Regions from separate parts of the Homo sapiens genome. Here region 1 is linked to region 2. Evidence: promoter capture Hi-C in human tissues and cell types (Jung and others, 2019). All regions are on one chromosome and are shown on one strand. The core of a region is centred on a gene start or on the middle of the fragment in contact, and the rest is flanking DNA. Distances in the headings are between cores, read along the strand shown.

Region 1 (3,114 bases), core at 553-3,052, 100 kb before region 2:
CACTTTTCTGTATTTTAACCTGTCACCCCCTCCCCTAAAAAAAAAAGGACCATAAAGAGAAAACCATGGGATAAGGCAACTGATAGGCATTGAGGCCTTTCTCTGTGCCAGGCATAGGCTACCCCAGTGGTTCTCAAAGTGTCCTCCTTGGATCAGCAGCAGCAGCATCACCGGGGATGGAAGTTCTCATTGTCCTGCACAGAGCTACTGAATCAGAAACTCTAGGATTCGGCCCAGCAATCTGTTTTCACAAGCAGTCCAGGTGATGCTGATGTAGGCTAAAGTCTGAGAACACGGGGCCATATGTCTAGCTAGGGCAATGTTAACATACATTAAGCCTGTGTACTGTCAGACAGCATTCTCAAAGCTTTCCTTCAGTAACTTTTTTTTTTTTTTTTTTTTTTTTGAGACAGAGTCTCTCTCTGTCGCCCAGGCTGGAGTGCAGTGGCGCGATCTCGGCTCACCGCAACCTCCACCTCCCAGGTTCAAGTGATTCTCGTGCCTCAGCCTCCCGAGTAGCTGGGATTAAAGGTGTGTGCTACTACGCCCGGCTAATTTTTGTACTTTTAGTAGAGACGGGGTTTCACCATGTTGGCCAGGCTGGTCTCAAACTCTAGACCTCAAGAGATCCACCTGCCTCGGCCTCCCAAAAAGCTGAGATTACAGGCGTGTGCCACCCTGCCCGGCCCCTTCAGTACCCAATTAATCCTCTAAACAACCCTGTGAAGGAGGTACTATTACTCTCCCCATCCTGCAGTTGTGAAAACAGAGGCAAAGAAAGGCCAAATCCTCTACCCCAGCCCCAACAGGCAGTTTGCCCCTAGAAGCCCCCTCCGCTACCCACTAGCCTGTCTCTCACACGCACCACCTCTCGCATACTCCAATTTCCTGCATCCTTGCAAGAAAGACTTCATAGCCCCGTTTTACAGATGAGGAAACGAATTCGGAGGCGGAGAATTCGTCCAAGGAGGAAAGAGACAGGGCATGCATGCAGTGTGGTCTGGGGCCAGGAGGTTTGGGGGTTTGACCTAGACCTGTTGTGGGAGGAGGGGCAGAGAGCCGACCAGCTGCAGCCGGCCTGGGTGTGGCTCGCACGTCACGCCTCCGCCCAACTACCCCCTTCCCCAAGCTGGCTGCCAACCCGGCGTGACCCGGCCCCCACCGGGAACCGTAAGGGCCTTCCCCTTCCCGGGTTCTGTGAAGCCCCATCCCTTCCTTCTTTTTCTTTTTTAAATTAAAAAAAAAATCCCCGCCCCCCCCCAAGAAGGGGAACCTGGACGGCCCAGAGAAGTGGTGGATAAAGTCACTGCACGGGCCCGAGCGTCCCCTTCCCCGGGAATCCAGCAGTCCGCAACAGTGCCGCCCCTCCCTAGGGCACCCTCCACTCGCTGTCGACCCCTCATCCCCCGGGCTACCCGCGGCTCCCCCGACGTTCCGTCTCCCCTCGCTGCCCCCAGCCGCACCCGTAGCCAGCCCTCCCCAGGCTCCTGGGCTCCCTCCGCCTCCTGGGACCCCTCGCGGGCCGGGTATTCCCGGTCCCCTGTGCGCGGCACTCACCTGGGCGCCCGCTCCTCGTCTCGCGGGCAGCCCGGATCCTCGCAGCTTGAGCGCCCCCCCAGCTCGGCAGCCCCTGAGGTTCCGGGGTGCCAGTGCCGGGAAACTGACTTTCTAGAACTAGAGGCGGGGGCGACGCTCTGAGGGGCTTTGGTGCCGCGGGCGTTTCTCGTCCTGCACTGTCTGAGTCCCTTCCCACTCGCCTCTAAGCCTCTGATGTGCTCCCGAGCTGGGACCAGGGACGTGGTGGCGCCCGCAGGCCATCTGGGCGCCTTAGCCGCGCCCTGAGCGAGGCTAACTCCGCCCCAAGTGTCCTAACACCTCCCCGAAGATTCAGACGCCACCCCAGGATCCTAACCGGCTCCCCGAGGGTCATAACCTCCGTCTCCTGCAAGAAGGATCCCAAACCCTCCACGAAGAGAAAAAAAATATTAGCACCATCCATAGGAGGCTTCTAACGCGTCCACCAAGGATGCGAACCCCCATCCCTTCCGCTCCACTTTCCCTAACACCTCCCCATCCCACCGCCCAGCGTCCTACCCCAGTCTCCAAAGGATCCCAAATCCCACTCCTAGGGATTCGAACCCGCCCGTCTAAGAACCCCAGCACCCGCTCCAAGGCTCCCAAGATACTAACCCCGCCCCGCCAAAGGATTTTTAATCCCACCTCTGAAGGATTTTTAAACTCAACTTGCCCCCAAAGATTCTAATCTGCCCAGTGGAAGGATCCGAACTCTCACTTCAGTGGATTCTAACCCTGCCCTAAGATTTAGAACACAAACCCCAGGGTTCCAATACCGCTCCTGCTCCTGCGCGATCTAACCTCCCGCCGCCTAAGAGTTTTAATACCCAGGGGTCTATACCGCCGGTCCAAAGATTCCAACCCTGCCCTTCAGAGATCCTAACCCCACCTATCAAGGGATTCCTGCCACAGTCTTCAAAGATTCCAACCCACCCTGGAAAGGCCTTACCCTACCCCGGAAGCATCGTGATCTCTTTTCCCCACCACTCCGACCCCTCCCTTCTGGCCCGGCCCTCCCCAACTCCGCGGCCCGAGACTTCCAGGCAGGTCTGTGGTCAGCGGTTTCTCTTCCGCAGGCCTGCTCCATTCAGACACCATGCAAAGTTCCTCTCTCGAAGGAACCACCATGGCCATGCAAAGTTCCCTGCCCGAAGGAACCACCCTGGCTTCCTGGCAGCTCAGAGGACTCCCAAGCTGGGGGAGGTGGTCGGGGGAGGGGAGGAGTCGGGCTGGAGGGTGACTGAGGCCCCAAGTGGATGGGATTGTGCCCAGCTCCAGGCAAGGGCAGAACACACCCTCTCCTGGAAAAGACAGGGGCTATCACCCTAAATGCTGTGTAACACACCTCCAAAATCTCCAAAACTACAAGAATTCTACCGCGTCTCTCTATTCCCGTTGCTACCAGCTGATCAGGACCACAGTCATTTCTTCATTCATTCATTCATAATTCATTCAGCAAAGCTGTCCTGGGGGCTGGGGAATGCAGGGGTTCTTAAATTTGGCACTATTGACATTTGGGCCAGGTAATTCTTTGTTGCG
Region 2 (3,013 bases), core at 231-2,730:
GAGGCACTGCCTTTCTCCTGGCCTCAGTCTGCAGCTGTGAAATGGGGCAGTAATAATCCCATCCATACAAAGGTTGCTTTGACACTCAAGTAAGGCAAGGGGTGTGAAGGGGCTTGGTTACAAGAGGTCAAAAGGAGAGAATAAAACGCTGGAATCAGGGAGGCGAGACATCAGAGTGATAATATCGGTTCTGCTCTTTAGACTTTCAAAGTCCTTTCCCAGCGCCTTTTACAGCCATGTGGGCTCAATGCCTCCTTCCCTCTGACCTCCTGCCTGCTTCCCCCCCGCCCATTCTGTTCCACATACGCTGGCTGTTCCCTCTGCCTGGAACACTCTTCTCCTAGGCATCCACATGGCTCACCCCTCACCTTCTTTTCAAAGCCTTGCCTCTCTCTGAGGTTTGTTTTTTCCAGCTATCCAATGAGGAGTTTGGGCGTGAAGACCTCGTGGGAACCCTCTGGTTCTGATGGTAACCATTTTCCACCTGCCTGCCTTCTCTGGGAAGTCCTCCCAATCCTACCACCCACACCCACCTGCTTTTCTGAGCTAGCACTTCATTGCTTACTGCCCATAGTTTTCAAGTCCCTTCCTTATGTATAGGCCAGCTACTCTGGACATTGGGCCCAACACAGGGGCTCAAGTGAACTCTGGTTAAACGGAATTAAAAGTGATTACTGCTTCCTTTGTTTTTTGAGACAGAGTCTCGTTTTGTCACCCGGGCTGGAGTGCAGTGGTGCCATCATAGCTCAGGGCAGCCTCGACTCCCCAGATGCAGGTGCTCCTCCCGCCTCAGCCTCCTGAGTAGCTGGGACCAACGGGCGCGCCCCCCCTCACCCAGCTAATTTTTTTTTTTTGTATTTTTAGTAGAAACGGAGGTTTTACTGTGTTGCCCAAGCTGGTCTCGAACTCCTGGGCTCAAGTGATCCCCCCGCTTTGGCCTTCCAAAGTACTGGGATTACAGGCATGAGCCACTGCGCCCAGCTGATTCCTGCTTCCTTCCGATCCTGTGGAGAGACACTGAGGCGGATTTTTATTCACCCCCTTTTTATAAATTAGAAACTGAAAGTGTCAGAGATTAAACATAAGTCACACTGCCACATGGGCCTTCTTGGTGTTTCTTAGCCAGGGGAAGAATAATATTTCCCAGATCCTAATCACTACCTGCCACGGTATATAATTGTTTTGCCATTAATTGTCGGTGTTTCCCACTAGGATGAAGTTCCATGAGGGCAGGGATTTTGTTGTGTTCACTGCTGCATCCTAAGCACATAAAACTGCTTGGCACATAATAAGTGCTCAAGAAGCATGAACCGAGGGAGTAACGGGTCAGAGGCAGCCCGAGGACTGAGCTCTCTGAGCCTGCAGAGGGCGCTCCAGCCCCGCCCCCAAAGCTAGGCCCCGCCTCTCGCAGCCGGCTGGCGCACTAGTGTTAGAGCCTGCGCACCACCGTTCTTTTAACTGCGCAGGCGCGCCGGAAGCACCTAGAGAGCGGCGCGTGCGCAGCGGGAGTCGAAGCGGAGATCCCGGGGTCGCGCGAGAGCCGCAAGCGGAGTTGGTGGGCGCTATGCTATCACCCGAGGCAGAGCGAGTGCTGCGGTACCTTGTAGAAGTGGAGGAGCTCGCCGAGGAGGTGCTGGCGGACAAGCGGCAGGTGAGAGGCCCCTCCGCGGCGCTGGGGCCTGGCGGCCGGCGCCGTGGGAAAGCGCGCGGGGTCGCAGTGAGTTGACCTGGACAGGCGGTTAACGGCTCCGAGGCGACAGACCTGGGCCGATAAATATTCGGCCGCTACTAAGTGAGCGCCTGCGCTATGCTGGACATTCCTCTCTCTTCATCCTTTCTCTGCCCCTTGCCATGCTCTGTGGATCTCGACCCATCATGCTCTGGGCCGTTTCCCTGAGCACCTGTTTCAAAATGCACTTCCCGGCCCCATGGTTGATCTAGGGGCACCGCCCTGTAAAGGCCCTCAGGGGAGAGCTGGAACCGAAAAGAAGCCTGAGGGGGCCTTGTGACCGGGCAGGGGTGGGGACGTGGGGGAAGGTGGCGCCCTGTTTATGGGGTGTCTTGTTTTAAGTGCCAAGTTTTTGAGGGGAGTTCCTGGGGGAAGGAGGGTGACGTAATTGGATTTAGGTTTTAAAAGGATCCCCCCTGGCTGCTGTGTGGAATACAGAATATAGGTGGGCAAGGGCGGAGGCAGGGAGATGGGTGAGGGGCCATTGGTATGGTCCAGACCAGAGATGGATTTGGACTAGGTAGTGGTGGTGGAGAGAAGTGAAGGGGTCAGAAATGTATTTTGGAGACAGACTCAGTAGGCCGTGGTAGTGGAGCCGGGGGAGTCGTGACTCCCTCTCATCTCCAGTTAGAAGGGTCAGGTATTTACTGAGAAGGGGAAAACTTGGGCAAGATCCTGTCAAATTAAGTACTGGATCAGGGTGTGCTGGATGAGAATAAGAGCAGTTAAAGTTTATCAGCTACTTACTATGTGCCAGGTACTGTGTTAAGTCATTTAATTGCTGGCTCAATAACCTGTAAGGTAGGTACTGTCCGTAGCTCCATTTTGAGGAGGAGTAAATAGGAAGGTGAAATTACACAGCTTGAGGCAGATAGCAGGATTCGAACCTGGGTATTCCAAATCCAGAACCAGCACTCGTGCAGTATACTGTACTACTGCGTCACTTCCTTAGTAGCTATTGTGTTGTTACCACTGTCTCAGTGCCCCCAATCCTGCTGTTCCAATCTAGTATTGTTGGGTTTCTCATATTACTAGTTCAGAATCAGCTGGAGAAGTTTGTCCAAAAATAAACATTAGGCCTGCTTAATCACAGTGTGTAGGGGAAGGGTTTCCACTCCCCTGGTGATTCTGATATGCCCTAAAGTTCGAGTGGATAATGCAGAATTTCCCATTTAGTCAGCACATGTTTTCTCAGCATCTTTTCTGGGGAGAGGGCAGCTGCACAAAGCATTGTCTTTAAGACCAGGAAGCTGAGTGAGAGAAGAAATACATTCACACATCAAT

The links. The method cuts DNA at HindIII sites, captures the fragments that hold promoters and counts their contacts. A contact is called where the count stands out against the background at its distance.
Region 1: the fragment with the promoter of HCK here is called in contact with the fragment with the promoter of PDRG1 in region 2 in 1 of the 25 tissues and cell types used here (mesenchymal stem cells).

What each region holds. Positions count from the first base shown.
Region 1 is chr20:32,050,930-32,054,043 of GRCh38, reverse strand. HCK (HCK proto-oncogene, Src family tyrosine kinase) reads right to left here and starts at 1,802. Exons shown (of 13, transcript NM_002110.5): 1 at 1,558-1,802. The coding sequence starts at 1,619. RefSeq lists silencers at 130-329, 1,383-1,442. The HindIII fragment of the contact is 18,740 bases long and covers 1-3,114 here.
Region 2 is chr20:31,950,513-31,953,525 of GRCh38, reverse strand. PDRG1 (p53 and DNA damage regulated 1) reads left to right here and starts at 1,480. Exons shown (of 5, transcript NM_030815.3): 1 at 1,480-1,651. The coding sequence starts at 1,565. The HindIII fragment of the contact is 6,454 bases long and covers 1-3,013 here.